Regions from separate parts of the Homo sapiens genome. Here regions 1, 2, 4, 5, 6 and 7 are each linked to region 3. The links are contacts of gene promoters, found by promoter capture Hi-C in blood cells and fetal thymus (Javierre and others, 2016). All regions are on one chromosome and are shown on one strand. The core of a region is centred on a gene start or on the middle of the fragment in contact, and the rest is flanking DNA. Distances in the headings are between cores, read along the strand shown.

Region 1 (3,650 bases), core at 115-2,614, 1.9 Mb after region 3:
AAATACTTCAACAGTAAGTTAATGCTATCTAATAGAAAAAAATAAAACACATCCCAGTCTTTTTCAATGCACCTTAGGCTACTCACACAGGGAGGCACACTGTTTATTTTGCTTTAGTCTGAACTCATTCAGATTTGTAACCTTTGACACACTTGCCACTTTAGACAACAGTGCATACAGTAACTGACCAGTGTTGCTAGCTTTTTTCTGCCAAAGCCCTATGCGAAGAAAGACACTGAGGCAGCAGTGTCTTCCTAACAGCTGGTTTCCAACTTTTCTCGAATATAATTTTATCCAAGCATCCACGCAGTCGATCACGTACCTTGCTTGGCCTTGTAGCCCAGTCGGCGCGCTTTATCAGGCCGGGTGGGGCGGGGAGCCCTGTGGAGAGCAGAGAGCTGGCGGTACTGCCAGCAGCGGACCCTCAGAAGAAAGCGCATGACATCAGACTGCTTCTTTCTCCATAGCTCCTGGATGTACTTGTATGCACCCATCTTGGCTTACCTGTGAAATCAAACTGTGTATTAAATATCATCCGCTTTAAGTACAATAAGACGACTGTATCCGTCCATCTTAGTTCCCCAACAAAAACAAGGAAACCGCCGGGAATGAAAATGGCTCTGCACCAACTGCCGGGGACAGCTAGCCCAACCCCCACCACTGCGCCCACGGAGCCGCGTTCAGTCACTTCCGCAACCCCAGCACAGAGCGGTGCTCGGCACGTTTTGGTGGGGCGAATTAACAGAACCAGAACTGAGCACCAAGGGGGCGGGTGGCTGCGGCAGGCGGCGTCCCCAAGGAGGACCTGAAAGGAGATGCCGCTGACATCACAGGACAAGGTACTGCTGCGGCCACCGAGGATTAACTCTCGAGGAAAATGCATCTACCCCACCCAACCAGCAGCCTCACTTTAGGCTGCCTTGTCCCGGGCGCCCCATTCGTCAGCCCCACGCCTCCTCCAGGATCCGGGCCCAGCTCGAATTCGCGCCGCCATCACATCTTCGCTCAACCCGCCCCGGGGGCCGCCTCTCCACCCCTTTGCTGTCCCGCATCCTGACCAAACTCTGGCCGCACAGGAGGGAGACCTATCTCCGAGGACGCAGGGTCCCCGGACCTGGATGGCTGAAGAGGAAGACGATCAAAGGCGGATGGAAGAGCAAAGATCCTCAACGCAGCCTACCTGATGGCTGCCGCCAGACGGAAAGGAAAGAGCTGTACTCCCACAATGCCTTTTGGGCTCCTCCCCCACCTCAGCCACCCTCTTTCCGGTGGAAAGCTGCGGCCTCCCAGAGCGTCATGGGACATGTAGTTCCGGCATCGCGCCTGGTGGCGGAGTTCTGCCGAGTGGGGCGCCGCGGCCGCTATTGTCCCGCCCCCTGCTCCGCAAGATTCGAGCCTGAGCGGCCTGGGCGTCTCGAGAGGTGAGAGAGTTGGCGGCGAGGTCTCGGCGGCTAAGCGAGCGTCGGCGACTGTCTCTCCGCGAGAGGAGGCAAGTTGGGGTCCAGGCTCCAAAGCCGGTGGCCGCGTACCGCGGTGGAGCCGCTGTCTTTGAGGTCTGAGGAGAGAACAGGTTTGTTTCACGCACCGCGGGCTCTCCCCCTGCGGAGTCTCTGCGTCTCCGCGTCTCCGCGCTGCGCTGTCCCTCTCTGGCCACCGCACGACGGGCGCAGAAATCTGGGCCCCAGAGCTGCGCTGAGAGATCCCCCGACGCTTCCCCAGCCTCCCAGGGAGGCCTTCGCGGAGTCGGGGCGTCGCGGGTCGGGGCGCTCGCTGTGTCCCTTCAGCTCCAGACTGCGTGAAGCTCCTCCAGCAGGCCCCAGCGCCCAGGGATTTTGTCCTAAAAAAGGGTCATGGAGTGGGTGGATTGCGGGCGGCCCGGCGCTTTTTCTGCATACGGATTTCGTCCCAAATTTGCTAACATGAGAACCACAGTTTTTCAGAAGAGCAGAATGTTTATTTGCCAAGACCTGTTTGGCAGGTGTGAATGTTTTAGAGAAGAAATGCCGAGAAAATGCTGGCATTTTGCGTTGCGGGTTTTTTTTTAAATTGAGAAATAGGTTACTGGCTTACTTTGTTTCTCCAGAATATTTTCACTTGGCTTTAATTTAAGTCATGTGGCTTTAATTTCCTTCCAGATTATGCGTTCAGATGTGGCAAAGGCTTAAGAGAATCATTATCTCTTAATCGTAGCGGTTTTGATTATCTTTTTTCCCACATCATATTTTTCTTTCTTTCTTTTTAAATCACAGCTTTACGTTTTTAAGAGTCTCTATCTGGTTCATTGATTGATTCAACAAATATTTATTAAGTGTCTAATATGTGCCAGGCATAGTTGCTGGGGATGCAGCAGGAAACAACGCAGAATTTTTGGCCTTCTTGGAAATGGGCAGTAAGCAGAAGTAAGCTGTGTTTTGGGTTTGGTGGTAAATGCTAAGGAAAAAAGATAAGGGGAGGGAAGTGATGAGGGAGTGTTAGCGGCTGAGGGTTGCAATTTGGAATGGAGTGTCCAGGTTAAGTCTTTGAGAGAAGGTAACATTTAAGAAAGGACTTCAAGGATAGGAGTCTGGGAGTAAGAGTAGGGGTCTGATTCAGGCAGAGGGAGAAGAGCCATGACTGGAGCATGCAAGATTAATAGAGGAACAGCAGGGAAGCAGTGTGGCTGAAATTCACAGTAGGGGAAAGTGGGAAATGACGTCGGAGAGGTGAAGGTTCTCACATGGACTTTGGATTTCATTGGCAGATTTTGAACAGAAGGATGACTTCATATGGCGTACATTTTAAAAAGATAACTCGGATTGCTCCTTTTGAGGCTAAAAGGAGAGAAAAAATGGAAGCAGAGAGACTGCTTAGGAAATTGTGTTAGTCTTCCATTGCTCCTGTAACAAATTTCAGCAACTTTGTTGGTTAATAATACAAATTTACCGTCTTTTAGTTTGTACATCAGACTAGGTCTGTAAATCTGTAAATATCACCAAGCTAAAACCAAAGTCAGTAGGGCTGTGTTCCTTCTGGAGGTACTAGGGGAGAGTACATTTATTTCCTTGGCTTTTCCACCTTATGAAGCCTGCCTGAATTCCTTGGCTCCTGACTGCTTCCTTCATCTTCACAGCCAGCAAAGGAGCATCTTCCAATTACACCTTCTGTCCTCTCCAGCACTCCTGTGTGTCTCTTATAAAGACACTTGTGATTACACTGGGCCCACCTAGATAATTCAGGATAATATCTTCGTATGGAAGTTCTTAATTTAATCACCCCCGCAAAATTCTTGTATGAGTATGTAAAGTAAACATATTCACAGGTTTGGGGGATTACGATATCTTTGAGAGACCAGGTGAGAGAACATGGTGCCTCACCCAGACCACTTCAGTAGTGATGAAAATGGTAAGTAGTGCAGCCCTGTATGTATTTCAAAGGTGAGGATGACTAAAAAGTTGAATGTGCTACTGTAGGTACGCTGCCTATGGGCGTAGTCCTGCTCCTAAAGGAGCAGTAAAAATAAAATTTAAAAAGTTGGATGAATCATTTGGAAAAACAATTCTAGTAGTGTGAATAATCACTGCTAATTTATCAATCACATTTGCAGTTTTGTTTCTCAATTTGTAGTTTCTCAGTTAACAGTTTTACAAGATTTGGATTTGTGTTTCCAGTTG
Region 2 (3,564 bases), core at 808-3,307, 2.0 Mb after region 3:
TTTTGGTAAACACAACCGCCACAAGACTTCCTGCTCATTTGAAAGGCAATTCATCTCCAGATAGGGTTTCTTTCCTCTCTAATAGGAAAGGCCCCAGTGATGATCTAATTCCCAACAGCCTGACCCTAGTATGGGTGCTGTTTTGATCGTGCTGAAACCCCAGTCTCCTGGTTGTCACAATTTTTCAACACTGCCTTTACATGCATAAAGGTATACACACTGCAATGGTGAAACTAAACATCATTCAGATGTTTAAGTCACACTTCTATCCTTAACGCATTTAGTAACATCAGATAAATGAAAGATGCTAAAAGGAAGAATACTTTTTAGCACATAAGATACAGGGTTTTATAAAGGATGACTTCTGCTGAACCTATTTCTTATACCCAAACAACCATTTAAAACATGCTGAACCTGGACGAGGTATGTAACACTCCACTGTTGCAAGAAAAGGATCTCTTTCCATTGTGAACCATGATGAGCAGCCTGGGACTTCTGAACTGACATCTCATTACCATTACCACCAATTCGAGGAGGTATTGGAATGCCAGAAAAACACAATGTAAATTCACAGAAACTACGTGGAAGTATACAAAGTGCTAACTTGGAGCATCTGTGTGCAAGGAGCAGGATCAGAAGAGGTCATCAGGACTATCTTTTGCCTTTTACTCCACAAACTTCTGTATTTGAATTTTTCAAAAACATGCATTCTTGTATAATATAATGGCTTAAAACTATTTAAAATATAGGCAGTGTTAGGGAAAAAAAAGCTATCAAAAGAAGGCTAAATGGAAATTCTGTCACATACAGAAAAACTAGTATCAGGGCCAGGCACCATGGCTCACGCCTGTAATCCCAGCACTCTGGAAGGGCAAAGTGGGTGGACGGCTTGAGGCCAGGAGTTTAAGATCAGCCTGGCCAATAGGTAAAACCTGGTCTCTACAAAAAAATACAAAAAATTAACCGAGTGTAGTGTCGAACGCCTGTAGTTCCTGCTACTTGGGGGCCTGAAGCAGGAGGACAGCTTAAGCCCAGGAGGTCAAGGCTGCAGTGAGCACCACTGCACTCCAGCCTGGGTGACAAAATGAGACCCTGTCTCAAAAAAAAAGTGAGAAAGAAAGAAATGTATTTTTATTATTCTCACCCATGCTTGAAGTGTTTAATGACTTTTCAGACATTTTATCCTAAAATAGCACCCCATCTGAATTTCTAGGTTAAGTCACTGAGACATTTACTCATGAAACAAATATATCCATTAAATAAAATCTGAAGTTTAAAGGACTTAGGCAAAATATGCCATTTAGTCTGTATAGACATACTGTCTACAGATATTCGTGTCTACAGGCTAGTTATAACTAGTCAATTTAGCAAAGTTTGAGCCCTGGGCTATAAATAACAGCTGCAAAACTGACTCTGGTGGCCCAGAGTTCATCAGCTATCTAAAAGGCATAATTTTACAATCTAAGATCTGGCACGCTTTAGGGAATCATTACAAAGTTAACATATTTTTTTCCCTAAAAGAATAGAGCTAAATGATATGGGAATAAAAGCCTAACCAAAATGAAGAGTGAGTTGGGAAACTATTTTGTGTGTGTGTGTATGCATATATATACACACACACACAAATCACAGATACTAAAATTAAGAATTTGATTTCTATGGCAACATAAAGCAGTTTGAAAATACTTACTTAAAATGACTTTGGACCAGGTCATTGAACACAATCTGTACTGTGTTCTAAAAAATATCCACCCAACATAATATACAACATTAAGAATTTAATTTTATGTTTTCATACATTATAACATATTGAGCAATTGCATTTCACATAAGTTTTGATGCTCAGTAACTTCAAATATTTTTGCCAAGTGCCAAAATTAGTGAACACAAACAGTGCACCTTCCTTCAAGAGGAGCAATTCTACTGATTTGCAATAATCAACTTTTTTTTTTGAGACAGGGTCTCACTCTGTCGCCCAGGCTGGAGTGCATCACCATGCCCGGCTAATTTTTGTATTTACTGAGAAGTTACTATGTGCCAAGTGCCATATTTTAATAACGTGTTTAAAACTACACACTGAATGCTGACTGAAGAAAGGAAGTATGGCAAAGGGTAAAAATATAAGACAGACTAATTGAAAACCAATTATTTAACTCATTCAAATCTCATGCTTTCATGCTGAGGGTAATTTTAAACATGTACGCACTTAATATATCACTTAATTCATAGATTTTCATTGGACGCTGACTTCAAAAAGTATCCCCAAGGCCAGGTGCAGTGGCTCACGCCCGTAACCCCAGCACTTTGGGAGGCCAAGGCGGGCAGATCACAAGGTCAGGAGTTCAAGACCTGCCTGGCCAACATGGTGAAACCCCATCTCTACCCAAAATACAAAAATTAGCTGGGCATGGTGGCACGTGCCTATAATCCCAGCTACTCAGGAGGCAGGAGAATTGCTTGAACCAGGACCCGGGAGGTGGAGGTTGCAATGAGCCGAAATCATGCCACTGCACTCCAGCCTGGGCTACAGAGCAAGACTCCGTCTCAAAAAGAAAATAAATAAATAAATAAATAAATAATCCATCTTTATCTCCAATAAAGTACATTAAAATACTAAATAATTAAATTCCAAAAGGTAACAGCACAAAACGTAAAACCGAACTCTTTTAAGAGAGCTGAATATTGGGACTACTATATAACATTAAGACAGCACCATTAGCCAACCAAAAGTAAAAATTTTAATTCACATTACTCAAACGGCCCCACTGGAAAATATCTTCAGAAAATAAAGTCATCTTTATTGTTAAAAGACAATGTAATATACATTCTCTTGCAAAATGAAGATGCCTCGTATTTTCTCTCAAATCAGAGATTTTTCTTAAAATTTAGTATTTTGAGCTTTGACTCCGTAACACCAATCACCCAACAGCCACCCAGTTTGGTGCATCCCCTGACCACAGGTAATTCCCAAACGTTTCACCTTGAAGGGGTAATTGGGAGGGTTTCCCAAAGATAAAAAAGTTCCACATGCCTCAGGAGCATAAATCTTTCACACATAAACTCAGTTAAAACGATGTGAAACTGAAGTGTACTTACACTGTTTTTTTTTTTTAAATGCTTAATCCCATGAAAATCTTCAAATGGTTTACAATTTTAGATTTGACTGTGCTTATTCACAAGAAAGCCATTATATGTTTTAATCAATGTTATTAATAACACACACATAGGAGACACACAATACCAAGCAGGAGCAATAACTAGACAGCACAGAACCACCTTGGGGAATGTACATGGATTCCACACAAACAACCAAGGGAAGCTACAGGCTTCCACGTGAACCACCACCATCAAAATAATGAGTTAGGCCTAAGTCTTATGGTTTTTCCACTTCTCAACCATCTTGAGAGATTATTAGCCAGGAAAGAATTCCCCAGAATGATTAAGTGTTCCAATTATAAACTATAGTTTAAGAGCATTTCAAACTCAAAATGACTTTCCTTACAAAACAGGACAAAGTTTCACGGAAGAGCATCCCACACCTAATCAACATTAAGAATGAATGTA
Region 3 (3,641 bases), core at 199-2,698:
TGTAACCTTTTGTCTGAAAATTCAAAGCAGTTTCAGAAACAACTTCAAGAGGAATCATTCCCATGCCAATTGCAACACCAGTAGCCACTTGATCAGCTTCTGACTGAGGATGCCAGCCAGAATCCTTCATGGCTAATTCTGCAGCCCCAATGGCCATGATGGTGGGAGAAGACATGGACTTGATATCTGATTTGGACACAAAGTTTTGTTCATTGAACTGACCTTCATCACTACCTCTTGGCACATAAGCAGCAACACTGCAAGGGATACTCTTATACTCTTCACCAACCAGTGAAACAATTCCACTCTCTCCTCCGATAAGACGATCCCAAACCAGGTGAGTTCCAACACCAAGAGGAGTCACTAAGCCAATGCCTGTAATGACAACTCGCCTATGCAATCTGGATATTGGCACAGTTCCGAAAAACTTCCTTTTACTTCTTAACTGTTGGCATAATCTTGAACATAGAAGACGAGTGCTTGTAATTTTCAGGAAATTTTGCAGGCAGTTGGACATGATTAAGATTCAGATGATCAGAAACACATTCCTGTAAAAGACCACAACACACCTAGGAGGTATTCTTTTAAATAGCTTAAGGGCCTAAGGAAAAACATCCAAGGTGTTCCTTTGGGTGCTTGATATGAGCTGCTAATGAACACAGGGAAAATGTTACATACTTTCAATTTATACCTTAACATCAAACTATCTGTTTAAACTTACCTTCTTTTTTAGACCTTAAGTGCCGTCAGACATTTGAAGACAAATAAATGAATTGATGATTCATTCGAGTCACCAAAACAGTAATTCAATGAAAAATATAAAGGCACCTCCAGCCTGATTTGAGCTGCAGGAAGCATCCTTTGTCAGGATTACTGATAACTTCTTCTAAATAGCATTTCTGGTGTCAGTGGCACAGAAAACACATTTCAGGGCATATTCTTTTAAGTAAGTAAGTGGGCTTTATCAATCTTCAGTACTTAAGGATAACCAGCCTTTTCAAAACGCTACCCAGGGCCAAGAGCCCTAGACTGAGCGTCTGGATACATGGGTTGGCAATACACTCTGTGACCAAGCTTGCGATGGGGGAAGGGGACAAGTCTTTCCACTCCTCTAAACTTCTCCAATTGAATCATTGGTGGAAGGAGGGGTTACGACTAGTGGATCACTTCAAGGGTACTACGAAGGCCAGGGGCGGGAGTAAAAGAGTGTAGCCATTCCCTGTATCGCCTCTCAGGCACCACCACACATGTACACAGCCCGAAGAAGCATGGCGAGAGAAAAAGAAATCAGGCCCCAGGTCCTCGGACTCCCCTCTCGAAATTCAACCCCGACTTGATTTGAATGTAAAGGAGGAAAGGAGGGGCGAAGGAGGAGGGTAGCCAGCGATACCTGTAACGGGGCTACCCCGGACACTTCTCCACAGTCGGGGGCGATGACGCTCTCGAGCGCACGCGCACACGCACGTACGCTCATGCGCGCTCGCACGTACGCTCATGCGCTTTCCCACGCACGCGTCCCGTTCGACTCTCTTTCCGCCGGTTGACTTTAAGCCGCGTCACCTTGGCTGAGGTCAGACCGTGGGAGGCGGCTGGGTAGCTGTTTGCGTGAGCAGAGACGCCCCTCTCGGAACCTCAGTGACTCGCCGATAATCGAGGACCTGCCAATAACGCGATGAGGTAGCATTTTCACCCATCAAAAAGGCATTTTTCTTTGGCAGTGATAATGCCCAAATATTCCCTTTTGTCGGAGAAGGGACACCATCGTATTCTACTGGAATTGTAAGAAAGAATTAAGGAAATTCTCTGCAGTTTCAAAGTTATTGCTATAGCTCGCAACGTTATTAGTAATTGTGAGTAAAGTGGAATTAACCAAAATGGCCAACATCAGGAAATTTGTTGTGTATCTTGTGGTACATCCAAATGCCATGCAGCCGTTTAAAATAATTCTGCAGGTGAATATTTATTAATGAGATGTTGCGACTATTTGTTAGGAGACATAGTTACAAAACAGTATATATCCGTTTTTTCAAAAATAATTCTTTAAAGGTCTGCAAGATGTATACTGATTGTGATCTTTCCCTCCTTATTTTTGCTTAGCTTTATTTAATAAAGCTTTTCTACAATAAACAAATGTTTTTGTAATAAAGTTTTTACTTTTTAAAAGTTGTCACCAGGCTGTTCTGCCTATGGAGTAGTCATTCTTTGTTCCTTTACTTTCCTAATAAACTTCCTTTCACTTAAAAAAAAATTATCACCAGATTTGAGACAGTGCTCAAAAATTGTCTCCATTGTCACAATGGAGACATTTGTTTCTAAGTGTGAAAAATTCATTAACTGTTTGCTTAGAGCTGACTGCAAACCGATAAAGGGAAAATATAACATGAAAATGTAAAAAAGCAAGAAGTCGACAAGATGGTATTCATCGAACATCTGTTTTTCACATGCTATCCCAGGCGTGAGTTTTGTCCTTGCTCTTCTTTAGAAAAATGGTTGAGCATAGAATCTTCATCTGGACCTTCTAGTCATATTTATGGTTTTTTCTGGGCAATGCCTCTTGAAGCCATTGTTTCCAAGTAGAGTGCTCTGCATTCTTTCCTACCCCTACAGAAGAATGTGAGTCAAGCTTAGCTTTCCAGGTTGGTCCTGGATTTAAATGAGTTTGGAAATCTATTTTGTTTAAAATAATTCAGCAAAGCTCAGTTTGACCTTCGTCCCAGGCCTAACCAGTCACCTCTAGTTGATCCTCATTCAGTGACAAAGTAGAGTTTCTTGAAGAATTAAAACAAACACATGTGGTTATAAAGTAACACTTGATGAGTAAGTACCTAAACTTGATCTCTTTTCATTGCTGTCTTTAAAATAATAGTGTGAAAATACCTACAATATTTTCTCTGAAGCTGAACTCATAAGAAACATACAGTTTTAATGTGCTATTTCTTTTGTAATATCACAAAATCGTCTTGGCTAAGAGGTGACAAAATCTTTCAGAAAAATAAAAAGACCATCATTTTTGTATCTACCTCTTATCACCTTTTCTTTGATCTGGAAAAGGGTGGGAAATTTTATGATATTTAATGGCTTTACATATTTGGTACCATATTTCCTGCTACAATTCCATCGTGTCTTCTTGCACCAAAATCTTCAAATGGGCTCTGCTTATCCTACCCTCCTATTAAGACTTCCTAGGTTTGCCTTAAATTCTTTGTAATCTGATTCAAAACTATCTTTCCAATTATGGCTCCCATTCTCTATTAAATGAGCTTGCCACCCAGCAAACTGATTTTCTCACTATACATGTCTTGATTGACCCTAACTTTTCTCATCTCTGTGCTTTTGCTATTTTCAACAACCACTCATTTTCTTCCTATCAATGCTTGAAGTTTGAATGCAAAAATGAGTAGAGGTATGGCTCTTGCTTTCAAGAAGTTTATGGTCTAGTAAAGGGAGACACCCATAGAAACAAGTAAGTGCAAACTGTTGAAACAGGTGCTATAGTGGAATTATTATAACACAAAAGGGACAATGAGGTCTGTGCTACCTCGTAAAGTCAGAAAAGGCTTCAGAGAAATGATCCTTGAACTGCATCTTGGAAATGAATGTTTGTCTAGTAAATTGGGTGGGAAAGGGCATCCTGGCAGGAG
Region 4 (3,854 bases), core at 240-2,739, 1.9 Mb before region 3:
GCTCCCTGGCCCAAGAGCTTCTGATCACAGGGCAGGGTATCAGTGCTTGTTTACCTGCTTTGGGGGTCTCAGAGGACAAACAATGAAGGAGTCTCAGTGAAAGGGAAACTCTCACAGCGGGGTTCCGCACACGCAGCGCAAGGGGACGCTGCGTCTTCTGCGGCGCAAATCTTTCGACCCTCTGCGCTCTGCCGGGGGGTGCGGGACAGCCGGCTGCTGACCGGGGAAAGGACTGCAGCTTGTGGGCGCAAGCAGCTGCAAGGAAAGGCCTCAAAGCATCAATATAATTTTTAAGCTATTTCCCGCCAGTTGTGAGCCCGGGATGTCAAGCTAGCAAAAACTCCGACGTCTCCAAGGAACTAACTTAAAGATATATTATAAGTGAAAAAAGCAAGGTGGTTAATAAAGTGTATAAAAGCGTGCAGATGGGTGGGGGACAGATAAAGAGAAATTCAGGTGCGCTTACGTACTTGCTGGTGCAAACATAACATTATAGCCCCAGAAATACACAGGAGAAACTAATAGTGATTGCCTTCACTTCGAGGAATTGGGAGGCGCAAGAGTTGGTAATCTGGTGGCTTTTGGGTTGCTGGGTATTTTTTTTTTAACTCATGCAAGTACGTTAAGTATATATTGATTTTATATTATATAATATATACTACATATAATGTATTGTTGATATATTCATACATGTATGTAAGTGTTATCAGTTGTTGCAGTCAAGATGTCTAAATTAACCTCTGCCCTGGACGATGACCTAAGGGTACGGAGAAACAGAGAAGACTCTCGGCGTCAAGGACCAAAGAGGGAGGGTGAGAGGAAATATGTGGGATCCCCTACCCCCGTATCTTTTCCCAGAAGCCAATCTGGAATGGATGTGTATTTGTAGGGGGCGGTGATAAGATAAACTGGGGCGCTCGAATACCTGAGTGCCATCCAGACTGCATTTGGAGATCTAAGCCGCCAAAGGCTGGGAGGTGGGGAGGAGGACAAAGGAGGGGGTGGGATTGCGAAACCATCGCCCTTATCCTTCTCTGCGTCGTAAGCGCCAGGAACCCAGCCCCTAAGGGAGCCTTCCCTGACTGCAGCGCCTGACGCCTGGGTTTGAGCCCCTACGTGGACTTTTTTTTTTCTTTTTCCCGGGCTGCGCGTACCAGGGCGTGGGTGGGAGCGATAGTGCATCACCGGGGGAGCATTCGCCACTCGCTCAGAGCCCTAAAAGACTCCTCTGAGGCGGAGTTGGCTGTCGTGCTGGCAAGTGCGCAGTCCCAGAGAGGAGTGTTTCGGGATTAGGGTGTCCGCCGAGGTCCCGCGCTCAGAGGAGGGAGAGACCAGAGGAGCCTTCTCGCTTCCCAGCCCTTGCTCAATTGGAAGGCTTCAAACGTCTAGGGGGAGGCGAGAAGCGCTCCTAAAGTCCAAAAACCCTAGCTTTAGAGCGCGCTTTCATGCAGGAGGCAGGGGCACCGCAAACCCCAGCGAGGAGTAGGAGAAAAGGAAATTTATCTGGAAGGGGATGAGGGAGAGAACTGGCTGTTGCTTTGCCGCGCCTCTCTCTTCGGGACCGAGGGATCAGTTTTCTGTTAAAAGTTTCAGAGTTCCAGGCAGAAGGTACCGCCTTCTCCATCTTCTAGGTCCTCCTGGACTTAAGGTTCACAAGTTGTGTAACCTCAGGCAAGTTATTTTATCTCTCTGAGCCTGGATTTTCTTAACTGTAAAGCGAAGATGCTGAAAGCACCTACCTTCAAGAGGTGGGAGTGAGAGCCTAAATGGGATGATGTATGCCAAGGGCTTGGCCCAGCCCCAGCACTTAGAGAGTGGACAACCCATGTCATGATTATGCCAAGCAAGGATGACCGATTCTACCGCAAAGTTGGGATTTGCAACCGAGTCATGGAGCCCGGTTTTCTCCAGAGACTCATTCTGAAGGTCCACCGGCTGTAGATGGGTACTGAATGCCGTTCACTGGCTTGCTCCGAAGACTCACAGGGTCCCCGTTCCATAGCCTACATCTGTCCCCCCCAAAGAAAACAATGACCCAGCCCTGCCACCATTCACACGTACTTAATCCCCCCACTAGGAGCCCCGCAGCCCAGACCGCTCGAATTCACATCCCCAGGCTACCATTTTCAGCTGGGTGCTTTGAGCCAGGGTCTTCGCCTCTCTAAGCATCACTTTACTCTTCTGTAAAATGGGATTATAACAGTTTAGGGTGCTTTTTCTTTTAAAAGATTATACAAGTAAAGCAGAGCAAAGTCAGCTGCTGCTTTTCTTATTCTCCTCTTTTGTGAATTTGCAGATAAACTCTGTTCTTGAAAAGTCAGCCCTAAGTGGTGGAAAAATGATCCTAGCTGCTCTTTGTTGCCCCTTGGATACGCCTTTACTATGGCTCCTTGATATTCTGTGGGGGGAGGGAGTTCCAGGGACCGTCCCGGCCCCTACCGAGTGATTAAGCAGCCCAGGCCGGCTTGGCCTTCGGGGCCTCCTCCGGACTTCCCTCGACAGCCGCTCTCTGCGGTAGATCTTGCTCTGCACTTGCTCTGTCCCCTTAATTTGCAGATGCCGCCACTGAGGCCCGCAGGGACCCACAGCGAGTGGATCCAGATGGCCTCTTTTTCTGGACATCCAGTTAAGGGTGCCTTCTCCTGGAGCGAGAACCCTGCGGGAGGCTTCCGACTACTCACTTAACTCCTTCGTGGTCAGGCGTTTAACCAAGTAGGTGGAGAACAAAAGCTGAGCTAAATACCCTATTTTCTTTCTTTGACAAGTAATCGGCCGGAACGGCAAAATCCCAGCGGGTGGCGGGAGATACTGGAGGCCTTGGGAAAAACAGAATGCTAATGGCCGCCTGGAGGGGGCGGAAGGCACAGCCTGGTTAGGGCGCCCCAGCCGCCTCGCTTTGAAGTGCACCTCTCCAGCCGAGCTCACCGGGAGGGCACTTGATTTCCCCTTTCGGGGAAATAAAGAAGAGCTGCTAGAGTAACTGGGGACTCTCTTTGGTTCTGACTGACTCCCTCCTGCTTCCTACCCCTGGTTCACGTTGCTTTTGACCTGTTTGCTCCTGGCCTCCCCCATCGGACTGGGAATCCCCGGGAGGAAAAAGACTAAGGTTTATTCATCCTCATTTAGCTCCAGTATCTTAGTAAGAACGGTAAAAAGTAAGCTCAGTCTAAGTGTAATGGCGAGTAGTAGGAAAGACTTCCTATGTAGGTGCCAGGTACTGTTCTAATTGCTTCATATTAATTATGCTGTTATACAAGTGGGGAAATTGAGGCACACAGAAGTTAAAGAGCTTTCCCAGACTCACAAAGATAGTAAAGGTTACAGCCACAAATACATACAATTCTGATACAAGGTTCTGTTTTCTCTTAGAAGTCTGGAAAGGGAGACCTTTAAGGAATGACTGCGACGGTTTTCTATCCTGTTGTCTGTCCTTCCTTTCTCCTTCCCTCTCACTGTTTCTTACTTGGTTATGTTATGGGCTTACTTATTTCTGCCCCCAACCCAAACTTCCTCTCCCTACTTTTCTCACATAGGGTCTGGATTGGGGAATTCCAGCTACCCCTGTCATATTGAAGCCTTGGTCAACAGGATTTGGGTTCTGCCCACCTGTTGTGTAGACATCTTGCTGCACCTGTATCATAGGTGTGCCTTCTGTTGAAACATTAATTTTCATAGACTCTGTCAACTCTGTTAGTAAAGTACAATTGATTTACATTCAGATTAACATTTCTCCTTGGTGACATGGTGTTTGCTTCCCTTAGCAGCTGTACTACAATTCCAGCACTAACTTCTTTTTTTCTATTTTGCTATGGAAGAAGCTTAGCATGGACATACAGACAAAGGCCATGCCACAA
Region 5 (3,954 bases), core at 1,126-3,625, 2.0 Mb after region 3:
TTGTTTCCTGCTGGTCAAGAAGTTGCAAGCAAAGGGAGGCCAGGATCCCTGCTGTATTCCAGCTCCACCCCAGTGCCAAGCTCATTCCTGGAGCTGAGTAACCACCTGTTGATTGATTATTACACTGACAAGGGCCCTGAAAGAGCATGAACAAACAGGTAGGTCAGAAAACATCTGGGGTTTGCCCAGAAATGTTCCCCTCTAAATGAGTGAATCAGAATGGCCCATGTACGTGATGCTTCTGCTTAAGTTGTTCTGGAAAACTATCAAGAGAAGGATGTTTTCAAAGGATTTATGTCCATTACTGGAATTAATTCTCTTTCTCTTTAGATGGAAGGATAGTCCAGCCTCTTAGAAATGTTAAATCGAGAGATCTAAAAAACAGCTGGCTGTGAGCAAGTTAGGATTTTCAAAGTTTAAAACACAAAAAAACTTCCCTGGGAAGTTTGTCAATCACAAGGTGGGCAAGTATGGAAAATGTTGGTGAAAATATTTAGGCTTCTTAACAGGCTAATTCTCCTCTGTAAGATTTGCTCATTTATTCTTGGAAGCAATACACCTATCATAATCAGCACTTTTTGTTTGAAAAGGCCATTCTCAGAAACATCTGTGAGTTATTCAGGTTCTTACGTCTAATCTAGAAGAGAGACTTAAGACTGGATAATTTGAGGAAACATTTGCTCTCTTCTTAGGGTTCTTAATTTTTACTATATTGAGGGGTTGAGAGCCACAACTTTTTTTGAAAACAGTTTTTTTCTCGTAATTATAAAAAGTTAAGATTTCTATTCAGAAACCCTCAAATAATAAAAAAAAAAGCCAGTACCCCCAATTTCTCGATCACTCCTTGGTACCAGTGTATCTGTGACTAGTATAGAAAGATAGATGAGGATTCTTTCTAACACTGAGATTTATGTTCCAGTGCTGAGAGTTCACTTGGTTCCAGTTGTGTCTTAGCTTAAAATAAATCTTTGGGGTGGTGGGTTGGTCTATGAGGTATATATTTAAGATGTTATTTTTGGAAACTGCTAGAGAATAAAATGAAAACTTGTGATTTTTCTCAAACTTGGCTTGAAAGTAAAATAAAGATTTTATGAACTGGGAGGTGAATACATTTACTCTCCCCAAACTTTCTCACTTGTAAATGAGTGGCTTAGTGCAGATCCTAGAGTTGGGAATTCAAATCCTATAGATTTTTCTTAGCTCTGTCTCTGCTTGTGAATCAATCTTTACCCAGACTATTAACTATGCTCTGATTTTTTTTAAAGTACTTACAGTTCCAATGTGTTTATATTATAAACCCATATTATTAATTTTATCCTATCATTTATTTATTGCACATCTAAGTGCTACACAGGCCCCCAAACTAGAGAATTTAGGTTTGACCCTTTGTAGGAATGGCTAAAGAGGTTTTCCTTAGGAGTATAAGGTGGGGTGTTTTCTCCCCCTTAAATGTAGGATTTTTGTGTCCTCTCCTCATGAAATGTACATGAACTCCTAATTGTGTAAGATGTGGAAGGCAGAGCTGTGTTGTGTGTCACCATCACCAAATGGACATTTGGATATGGCACTGTGCTGGGTCATGTCCTGAACAACTTTGACACATAACTTCTGCTTTCTAAAATGGTTCTTTTAAATTTTGTTTACTTTTTATTATCAAAAATTTTCAAATCATTTTTTTGCTAAATCATTTTAATGTAAATTATAGATATCAAGATAATTTACCCAGCCAGGCACAGTGGCTCATGCCTGTAATCCCAGCCCTTTGGGAGGCCGAGGTGGGCGGATCACCTGAAGTCAGGAGTTTGAGACCAGCCTGGCCAACATGGTGAAACCCCATCTCTACTAAATACACAAAAATGAGCCAGGTGTGGTGGCATGAGCCTGTAATCCCAGCTACTCAGGAGGATGAGGCAGGAGAATTGCTTGAACCTGTGAGGCGGAGGTTGCGGTGAGCCGAGATTGTGTCACTGCACTCCAGTTGGGCAACAGAGCGAGACTGTGTCTCAAAAAAAAAAAAGATAATTTACCCTTAAATTCTTCAACATGATTTTTCAAAAGCTAGACACACTATTATCACATTTGACAAAACTAGCAATAGGTCCCTGGTATTGTATAAATATTCTGTCCATATTTAATTCTCTAATTTTCTTTTAGGTTCAAATCACTATTCTACTAAAGATCATGAACACTGCTTTTGTTTGTTTTGTCTCTCACTCTGTCGCCCAGGCTGGAATGCAGCAGCACAAACATGGCTCATTGCAGCCTCGATCTCCCAGGCTCAAGTGATCCTTCCACCTCAGCCTCCCAAATAGCTGGGACTACCCACGTGAGCCACCATACCCAGCTAATTTTTGTATTTTTTATAGAGATGGGATCTTGCCATGTTGCCCAGGCTGGTCTTGAACTCCTGGCCTCAAGCAATCCACCTGCCTCAGCGTTCCAAAATGCTGGAATTACAGGCATGAGCCACTACACTGGGCCTGTTATGTTTCTTTTAATTTAGAACAAACCCCAATTATTCCACCTCTTTTGCCTTTCTTTTATTTGTAGCATTGACTTGTTGAAAAGATGTATGGCTAGTTTGTATTGCAGAATGTCCCACATTCTGGATTAGCTTGATTGTTTTTCTACACGCTACCATTTAACATGACCCCTCTATCTCTTTTTTTTTTCTAGTTTTTTTCTTTTTTTTCTGCAACCTTCTCTTTTGAGGAACTCTATCTCTTCTATGTCTTATAATTTAGGGTTTCATAGTAAGGCGTGATTCGATGCCAGTTACACATTTTTGGCAAGATAGTCAAGTCATAGCATAAGTGACACTGTGTATGTCCCATTGTATCACATCAGGAAGTGATGACTGCTTGCCACTTAAAAACCGTCTCTTGAGAAGGAGCAATATCTACCATTTCTCATTTGTCTTACCACCACTGGAGCTGAAGCTGGAACTGTGAACATCATTTAGCCTCTTTTATCAGTTTTCTATGAGAGACAAAACTAATACTAGTCTCTCTAACTTCACAAGGTATGATAAAAACCACAGGAGACGATGACAGCAACATCATAATAACACCACCACCAATACCTATCATTTATTGAGCAATCACTATGTCAAGCCCTGTGCAAGAGCTTGCCACTCACTATTTCAGCTAATCCCCACAATAACCATGAGAGATGAGTACTATTATCACCTCCATTGTATAGGTGAGGATACTGAGCCACAGAGAGTTCAAGCAACTTGGCCAAGGTCAAACAGCTGGTAAGAGGGGGAGGTGGGATGGAAAGCCAGCCAGCCTGGCTGCAGAGACTCCGTAGGAAATCGTATGTATCATACAAAAGTAAAGCAATGACCCAGAAGTACCAGTTGTTGTATTAGAGGATGGAGAAGACATTTTTATTTTGTTTTTCTCTGTTTTTCAGACTTCCATTGCTGCTACTGTATTACTTTAATAACCGTAAAACAAATAGGTACTTAAAGTGAGACATGCAATATGAATATAAAGTAACAATCAGAATCATTTATTAAGTACCTGCTCTAGTGGTACTGACAACAGAATAAAAGGAATCACATCAACAATAATAAAAAAAAAACTTTGCCTAGAGGCAAATAGACATAGGAACTAACACCATAAACAGTTATTCTATGCTTTCTTCTTTACAATTCTACTCCTTTTGTCCTGTTTGACATATGGCTCACTTCATAAAAATGTTTAAATATTGATTTCCAAATAGCTTTAGTTGGTCCTAAAACAATATTAAGGGACCATGTGGTTCTGGAAGGATCCATTCTGCTGTTTCTGTTTTTAAAAAAAAGTCCTTTTTTTTTTAAAGGATTTTTTTTAATCTTGGTTTTTGAATCAAGATGGTTGGTCAATTATACCCAAACAAAGTGACCATGCAATTTCTTTATTTTAATTTTATTATTTATTTATTTAATTTATTATTATTATTTTTTGA
Region 6 (3,626 bases), core at 964-3,463, 2.0 Mb after region 3:
CAGGGTCTCACTTTGTCGCCCAGGCTGGAGTACAATGGCACAAACACAGCTCACTGCAGCATCAATCTCCTGGGCTCAAGCAATCTTCCTGCCTCAGCCTCCCAAGTACATGGGATGACAGGCACACCACCACACCTGGATTATTTTTTAAAATTTGTTTTGTAGAGATGGGGGTTTCACCATGTTGCTCAGACTGGTCTCAAACTCCTGGGCTCAAGCAATCCACCCGCCTTAGCTAACCAAAGTGCTGAGATTACAGGTGTGAGTCACCACATCCCTGTATTTTTCTTTTTTTGAGACAAAGTCTCGCTCTGTTGTCCAGGCTGGAGCGCAGTGGCAAGATCTTGGCTCACTGTAACCTTCGCCTCCCGGCTTCAAGCGATTCTCTCTCAGCTCACTGCAACCTCTACCCACTGAGTTCAAGCGATTCTCTCTCGGCTGACTGCAACCTCCACCTCCCGGGTTCAAGCGATTCTCCTGCCTCAGCCTCCTGAGTAGCTGGGATTACAGGTGCCCACCACCACGCCTGGCTAATTTTTGTACTTTTAGTAGAGATGGGGTTTTGCCATGGTGACCAGGCTGGTCTCAAACTCCCGAGCTCAGGTGATCTGCCCACCTCGGCCTCCCAAAGTGCTGGGATTACAGGCGTGAGCCACTGCGCCCAGCCCCCCACACCTCTATATTTTTCTTTACAGGTCTCCTCCCTCCAGGAAAAACACAGTCCCTTCTCCTTTATTAAAAATGTATATTCTCTTCCAACAGGTCAACTATTTGTGTCCAAGCCATTCCCTGGACAATGATCAGAAACTGAATTCTGTTTTTATTTCCCTTTCAGGAAAATCATTCATTTGCTCCTTCATTCATTCACAGCAAAAGTTTGAGCAGTTACTGTTTTCTAAACCCTGTGCTAGATGGCTGACATGATCCATATGCTCACAGAGCTTAAAGTATTGAACAAACTCAAAAAGCCAATTATTAAAGCTAAATAAATGACTAAGTTTTCTTCCTTTAGAAAAAAGTATTTGGCTGGGCATGGTAGCTCATGTCTGTAACCTCAGCACTTTGGGAGGCGGAGGCGGAGGCAGGCGAATCACCTGAGCTCAGTCAGGCATTCAAGACCAGTCTGGCCAACATGGTGAAACCCTGCCTCTACAAAAAATACAAAAATTATCCAGGCATAGTGGCGGGCACCTGTAATTCCAGCATTTGGGAGGCTGAGGCAGGAGAATGGCTTGAACCTGGAAGGCAGAGGTTGCACTGAGCTGAGATCGCACCACTGCATTCCAGCCTGGGCAACAGAGTGAGACTCTGTCTCACAGAAAAAAAAAAAAAGAAATACAAAACTTAGCTGGGTGTGGTAGCACGTGCCTGTAGTCCTAGCTACTTAGGAGGCTAAGGTGGGAGGGGATCACCTGAGCCTGGGACATCAAGGCTGCAGTGAGCTGTGATCACACCACTGCACTCCAGCCTGGGCAACAGAGTGGGACCATGTCTCGAAAAAAAAAAAAAAAGTATTCATTTTGTTAAATATTTTGTCAAACTAGCTCCCAATATTAGTGTCATCTGGACCCTTTCACTTTAATTACCAAAATAGCTGACTGATCCAAAACTCAATCAAGTTAGACTAACTGGTCCCTCGCCCAAGAGTTTTACAACTGGCCAAAAGTAAGTTTCTCTCTGGGTGCCTGTGGTCATGTTCTTCAGGCAGGCTGTGGGCAGCCAGGAGCAATCTGCGATGTGAGAAAAAATAAAGCGCACTTGGAGTGAGAGCATAGATGAGAGTTGGAGAGAATTCCTGGTTTCTGTTGTTTCTGATATCCAGAACATTTCAGTTCCTGGGTTATCAGACACACACTCAAATATCCCTATAATATTATCTTTTTATTTAAATGAATTAATTAGACTGCTGTTACCTGCAACATAAAGAGTCTTAGCTAATAACAAAAGTGGTATCAGAATGACTAATTCTCTCCAAAGTACAGTGGTTGAGTATCGGCCCTGAAGCCAGATCACGTGGGTTCTTCTGGCTTCTCCACTTACTAAGCTGCACATAACCTTAATGTTGATTTCATAATCTGTAAAATGGGATTACATGACCACCAACAGGAATGGTTTAAGTTTTAAATGAGTTTCTAATGTTCAAAGTCCTTAGAACAAAACTTGACCCACAGTTAAGACCGCAACAGAAGTTAGCTATCACCACCACCTCCAAGGGGGATCTAAATTCTACGATATACTGATTTGCTGATGTTTCAATGAGACCACTCATCTGGCTTGACACATTCCCTACTGTACACATGATACACAGAGAGCATTGACAAGGCCACTCTTAAACAGGGACAGTTTCCACATCCAGGTGAATCAAGAAGAGTAATAAGGTAAGGAAGAGAGAAAAAGCAGTGGCTGGATTCTCCACAGCTCCAAGCATCACACTGTTCTCTCATAAGGAGCTTCTACACAACCAAAACCCCAAACCTGCCCCCACCCCAATATTGAGTCACACTGCTCTTCCTTTGATGCTGTTGGTTCTATAAGCCTGAAGATTTTTATGCATTTTTGGATCCAACAGATGACTTCAGCTTGCCAAAAACAAACAAAAACAAAAACAAAAAAATGAACCCACTCCCGACTGGTATAACTCTTAAAATCCTTTATTATTTGTGATTTTTATTTTTGTGTGTGATGGGGGTAGGGCAAGAGATGAAGGCTGCTGACCTTTGTGAACCCTAAATCTATTTATAATACATATTGACTAAGACTCCCTCTATCCACTCCATGCTCTTGTCAGGGGATATTATAAAGGGCTCAGAATAAATTAAACACCATCCTGAAAGGCTACTTAACTAGAAGCAAGCATGGCCCAGAGATCAAGCACATGCATGTAAGAATTAGAGGAGCCTAAAGAACCAGGAAGTAGTTAAAAAGAAAAAAGGAAAAATAATATATGCATGATTTTTCCAAAGATATTTTCTTGACAAAGTATCTTTTAAATTATTCTAGAACCAAAATTCCAGGTGTAGCTAGCTAGGTAATAAGAAGGAGTGGAGGGAAGGGGGAGGAAGGGAAACATGTGGCATACCCATATCCTGACAATGCCAGGGTTTCTCTACAGAAATTCCGAAATAGCAGCAAACTCCTCAAGAACCCAGGCCAACAGAGCCAATCAATCCATGCTTATCAACTCACAAATTTGCTGAAGGCTTTCTCCTTTTATCTGCTTCTCTTTCAGACATCTCTTATTTATAGAAAGTAGTGAGCTAAGCCTGAGGGGAAAACCAAAGTCCCCATTTCTAACCGCTCTTCTAGACCCCTTTCCTTTCTCAGTTCCTCTTTCCTTTCTCCTTCTCTTATTAGCTCGACCTCAACCTTTTCCTTGGACTCCCTAAATCTGTAAACTTTCCCACTTCAGCACTTTTCCAGGAGAGGGGCAGGTATGGGGGCTCAGGCTACTGGTAAACCCCGTGCTTTGGGAGGTTGAGGCAGAAGGACTGCTTGAGACCAGGAGTTTGAGACTAGCCCAGGCAACACAGCAAGACCCCACCTCTCCAAAAAAATTTAGAAAACAGCTGGGTCTGGGTGTGGTGATTCACACCTGTAATCCCAGCACTTTGGGAGGCTGAGGCAGG
Region 7 (3,941 bases), core at 865-3,364, 1.9 Mb after region 3:
CTGATTCAGACCTTTTTTAAACAAAGTAGATTGGCATATAAAATAAAACGCACTACTCATCTCTTATATGGTGTTTTATAGCCACGTGTCCATTTTATATATATGAGATGACAATCTCTAAAAACTCTGTTAAATATCAATGTTCCCTTCCAAGAAGGGAAAACAAATTCCAATTTTGTTTTAAACAAAAAGTATGTAGTCTTAGAGGGACTTTACATAAATGGCCATATGTGTAACCTGTACCAAATTAAGCTGTTTTAAATTTACAGACTACAAGCAACTGAACCCAAATGTCTAAATGTACATTCTTTTCTGTACTACATTTCAGCTAATATTGCAGAACTAATGACAATTTTAAAAGTTGCTATTACCAATTCTGTCTACTGTAGCAAGATACCTTAAGTTACAACAAAATCTTAGGAAATAAGACTGAATAATATCTGTTATAGAAATACCCTACTCTTTACCAACTCCCACCCTCCCTGACCCCTTCAAAATCATAAGCAGCTCTCTTCTGTGACAGACAAATAATGTAAGAATTGTGAAACCCCAATTTATGTAGCGTATCTCTTGGTCCACTGTCTGGCCATTCTGTCATGTTCTGCTCTGTTGGTCATATACTGAGTGGCAATACTTCCCACCAAGGGGTCGGCTGGAAGAAAAGAATGTAGATTACTTTGGAGAAAGGAAAAGAACATTTTAAACTTTAGCGAATAGTGACAGCTTGGGTAGATACGTACGACAAAGTATGTGTGATCAAACCCATCTTCGAAACACCACTCCACCATGCTGGATATTTTTCCATCAAAATTTCAAAAAAACATAACGTTGGGGGAAGAGGGAATGCTTAGGCTTTAGTGTACTGGTCTGTCTTTATCTTAGTTCATTCCATTTTTCTCCCAACAAACAACACTCAATTGGAGTTTCTTTACTCTTATGTGTTAGGCTGAGTTCAGTAGAGACTGGAACGGTCAAGGCTTCAGACTGCAATGAACATCCAGCTGTGTTCATGTGACCCTTAGCTCAATGTCACCAGTTAACGGCATTGTGAATACTGTGAAGTCTTCGGGGCTGTTGCAGTGCAACACTATTAACCTTTACGCTGGTTAAAGAGCCAGGTTGCCAGGCAAAACCTGGACCTCCAATTAAGTATAGTATTTCTCTGAATCTTAGGATCTTTAATAAATTTATATTTGGTTTACCTAGAAAATATATTTGTCTGTGTGTGTGTATATATATACATATGTGTATATATATATATTTTTTGAGACAGGGTCTCGCTTTGCCACCCAGGCTGGAATGCAGTGCAGTGACATGCTCATGGCTCACTGCAGCTTTGACCTTCTGGGTTCAAACAATCCTGACACCTCAGCCACCCTAGTAGCTGTGACTACAGAAAAATATTTTTTAAATGAAATGAAGTCCCAAAAAAGTCACAATTCAATAGTCACTAAGTATTTAACAACTACCATTTTCAAAATTGAGTGCCATCTCAGTGACCAGCTATGGGACACATGCTCACTGAACCCCAGAGGCACAGGTGAGGCTTGCCAGGCAGATGACTCGACATTTAGAAGTGTCTGATTTGTTTTATAAGAACTCTATGGGAAATTAAGCAACAGGAAAAAAAAAGGAGGAAGAATAATTGAAACTAAAAGCCCAAGGCAAACTTACGTCAGTCTTCAGTTTAAAATACCTTGTTGCTAGAATATACTGATTAATGAAGTTGTGTGTCTCAACTAGTAGACTGAACTTGATTAAAACTTTCTTTTGAAAAGCCGATTAGTTTTTGTATTCACAAACTTGTGCAGAAAAATTAGTTTTGTCCTTTGAAAGCTTTTGGAAACAAGTATTTTTCAGGTAAGGAAGAATAAAACAAGGTAAAGAATTATGAACCTTACCAGGATTACAGTCTGTAAGAAGTGAGCAGATAGAAAGGAGGACTTTAGAAATGGTTAGTGCTGGACTCCAATTATCTTTCAATATGTCCAAGCAAATAACACCTTGACTGTTAATATTACAATGATAGATTCTTGTCCGAAATGTAACCTAAAAAAAACAAGTGACAGACAATATTTAAACAGCAAACAAACTTGTTACTAAATATTCAACTGAATGACCCTTAAGAAGGTGACTAAAAGCAGTTTTAATTAAAGCTGTCAAGAAGATAGACAATAAATTTGATTAGAAAGTGTTCATTGATACCATCTCAGGGACTGTGTCAATTTCATTTAAAATGTTATGTCCACTGACGGTAAGTTCAGTACTTCCTAATTTCATCTTTAGCAATTTTAAATCTTTTAAATATTAACATTTCCAAGTTTGAATAGCTAATTGTTTGCTGACCTCTTGTGTTAGCTGGTAGTACTACACTGCCTCAAAGTAAGCTTTAAAATACTGAGAATCATAAATACCTCTTAAAAACTGAAGTGCAACATAATGGGTACATAAAGATAATTAAACAACATACTTAGCAAACAATGACTACACCCAAAAGGCTGAACAAAATTTGAAGAGAAGTCTATTTCTGCTTTTTTCTGACCGTTACATCAGGTCCTATAGACATCCTGTCTACCTACATCACAGAATTTACTATTATATAATCGAGTGTCCATGGATGCAGAGCCAGTAATGGGCAAGGACCACAGCAGAACACAAGTCACATAAGCTGGTGTTATTTGGGTCTCTTAATTTTTATTTGTGAAATATACCAAAACACAAAGTAAAAATTACCTGTAATTTTACCAATTTTTTAAAAAAGTGACTTTCGATTACTTCTTGTTGCTGCAGTTGTACTTTTATCTGGCAGTCTACCTAATCCCCAAGACGGGGTTTTCTTTCTGACTGAATGAGAATCATAGATTGAGTACAGGAGATGGGTGACTTGGGCAATCCTCACCTGTCCTAGAAAGAAAACTGAGGCCTGGAGGTAAAGGAACAAGACCAAAACATGACAGGGAGCACAACAGAATCCAAAGCTTTGGGAAGAGATTCTGATTCTCTAGTTGTTTGGCCCCCTGACCTGCCCTGCCTTTTTTTGGGGTCTTGCTTTGTTGCCCAGACTGGACTCAAACTCTTGGGCTCAAACAATCCTCCCAAGTAGCTGGACTACAGGTGCACACCACTGCACCTGGCTTGACACCATTTTTAACCTCGAGAAAGGTTCAAAAACATTTCTCTATGGGCTGGAAAACAGGGGATTAATTCTAGGTTGCTGACAATATTACTATAAATAGCACAATTTTAAGCACCATCAAAACAAAGCACTTAATCCTAGAATGGTCTCTGCCAGATAAGGCAAAATCAACCTAAAGAAGTGTTTTGTATATGTTAAAATACTCAGATCTATTAGGACATAAGATAAATCTAGTTTCTGTGATTAAAAATTAAATTTAGAAAAACCTCAACAGTTGCTCTCTTGTGGGAATTAGTAAATTTGAGCATACAGGGAGATTTCTTACCTTTGGAGGCTTGAAGGGATATTCTGGTGTAAAAGTGATATCGAGAAAGAATACACCACCCTCATACACGGATCCTGGAGGCCCTAGAATGGTTGATCTCCATTCATAGATGTTATCGCCTTTGGGACCAGCACTGTGAATAATACGTCAACAAATAAGCAGATGGTGGCACTATCCCAATTTTTACAGTGTATTAAAAGAGATGGAAAGATTACCTCTCTCCTCTCTTTTGTTTACTGTGTGGATTCTCTTTACAAAACAAGTACAGAAACGGATGCAGAACTGCAACAAACCCATAGCCATTGGTCAAGCAAACTGGATGATAAAAGAATGTTAAAACCATTCTAAGCCTACCTAGCTACGAATAAGCAGGAAACTTTCCTCAATTCTCAAAACTCTCCTGGACACGTAGGAAAGTGTAAACAATACTTAAAATGGGAAACACATCTCAGCACCTAGAAGCGAAATTAGTGACAAATG

Evidence for each region. Contacts are between HindIII fragments. The CHiCAGO score rates a contact against its expected background, and 5 or more counts as called.
Region 1: a contact is called between the fragment with the promoter of NKIRAS1 here and the fragment with the promoter of OXSM in region 3, in 8 of 17 cell types (non-activated CD4 T cells, naive CD8 T cells, total CD4 T cells and 5 more). The highest score is 23.1, in non-activated CD4 T cells.
Region 2: a contact is called between a fragment that was not itself captured here and the fragment with the promoter of OXSM in region 3, in 5 of 17 cell types (activated CD4 T cells, naive CD8 T cells, total CD4 T cells and 2 more). The highest score is 19.3, in activated CD4 T cells.
Region 4: a fragment that was not itself captured here is called in contact with the fragment with the promoter of OXSM in region 3 in 3 of 17 cell types (naive CD8 T cells, naive B cells and activated CD4 T cells); the score reaches 11.7 in naive CD8 T cells.
Region 5: a fragment that was not itself captured here is called in contact with the fragment with the promoter of OXSM in region 3 in 1 of 17 cell types (non-activated CD4 T cells); the score reaches 8.2 in non-activated CD4 T cells.
Region 6: a contact is called between a fragment that was not itself captured here and the fragment with the promoter of OXSM in region 3, in 5 of 17 cell types (total B cells, total CD4 T cells, non-activated CD4 T cells and 2 more). The highest score is 10.4, in total B cells.
Region 7: a fragment that was not itself captured here is called in contact with the fragment with the promoter of OXSM in region 3 in 9 of 17 cell types (total CD4 T cells, naive CD4 T cells, activated CD4 T cells and 6 more); the score reaches 13.4 in total CD4 T cells.

What each region holds. Positions count from the first base shown.
Region 1 is chr3:23,914,704-23,918,353 of GRCh38, reverse strand. It overlaps NKIRAS1 (NFKB inhibitor interacting Ras like 1), which reads left to right and starts at 1,364. Exons shown (of 5, transcript NM_020345.4): 1 at 1,364-1,570. It overlaps RPL15 (ribosomal protein L15), which reads right to left and starts at 1,222. Exons shown (of 4, transcript NM_002948.5): 1 at 1,181-1,222; 2 at 323-504. The coding sequence starts at 494. RefSeq lists enhancers at 481-580, 510-1,709, 961-1,760. The HindIII fragment of the contact is 19,179 bases long and covers 1-3,650 here.
Region 2 is chr3:23,812,543-23,816,106 of GRCh38, reverse strand. All of the region lies in intron 3 of UBE2E1 (ubiquitin conjugating enzyme E2 E1), which reads right to left. Among named protein-coding and RNA genes, the nearest start is that of UBE2E1-AS1, 7.4 kb to the right of the region's middle. The HindIII fragment of the contact is 7,557 bases long and covers 1-3,564 here.
Region 3 is chr3:25,787,897-25,791,537 of GRCh38, reverse strand. OXSM (3-oxoacyl-ACP synthase, mitochondrial) reads right to left here and starts at 1,448. Exons shown (of 3, transcript NM_017897.3): 1 at 1,391-1,448; 2 at 1-548. The coding sequence starts at 517. It also overlaps a transcript of NGLY1 not described here. RefSeq lists enhancers at 1,151-1,220, 1,231-1,300, 1,440-1,969 and a silencer at 1,403-1,622. The HindIII fragment of the contact is 1,038 bases long and covers 1,077-2,114 here.
Region 4 is chr3:27,727,608-27,731,461 of GRCh38, reverse strand. No RefSeq gene overlaps it. Among named protein-coding and RNA genes, the nearest start is that of EOMES, 7.2 kb to the right of the region's middle. RefSeq lists enhancers at 445-1,376, 1,377-2,306, 2,307-3,238. The HindIII fragment of the contact is 4,662 bases long and covers 1-3,820 here.
Region 5 is chr3:23,792,875-23,796,828 of GRCh38, reverse strand. No RefSeq gene overlaps it. Among named protein-coding and RNA genes, the nearest start is that of UBE2E1, 11 kb to the left of the region's middle. The HindIII fragment of the contact is 4,856 bases long and covers 1-3,954 here.
Region 6 is chr3:23,829,404-23,833,029 of GRCh38, reverse strand. All of the region lies in intron 3 of UBE2E1 (ubiquitin conjugating enzyme E2 E1), which reads right to left. Among named protein-coding and RNA genes, the nearest start is that of UBE2E1-AS1, 24 kb to the right of the region's middle. RefSeq lists enhancers at 1,492-1,541, 2,062-2,271, 3,191-3,620. The HindIII fragment of the contact is 6,760 bases long and covers 1-3,626 here.
Region 7 is chr3:23,887,220-23,891,160 of GRCh38, reverse strand. UBE2E1 (ubiquitin conjugating enzyme E2 E1) reads right to left here. Exons shown (of 6, transcript NM_003341.5): 4 at 3,462-3,594; 5 at 1,902-2,049; 6 at 1-652. The coding sequence ends at 555. It overlaps NKIRAS1 (NFKB inhibitor interacting Ras like 1), which reads left to right. Exons shown (of 5, transcript NM_020345.4): 5 at 1-1,210. Among named protein-coding and RNA genes, the nearest start is that of NKIRAS1, 28 kb to the left of the region's middle. The HindIII fragment of the contact is 551 bases long and covers 1,839-2,389 here.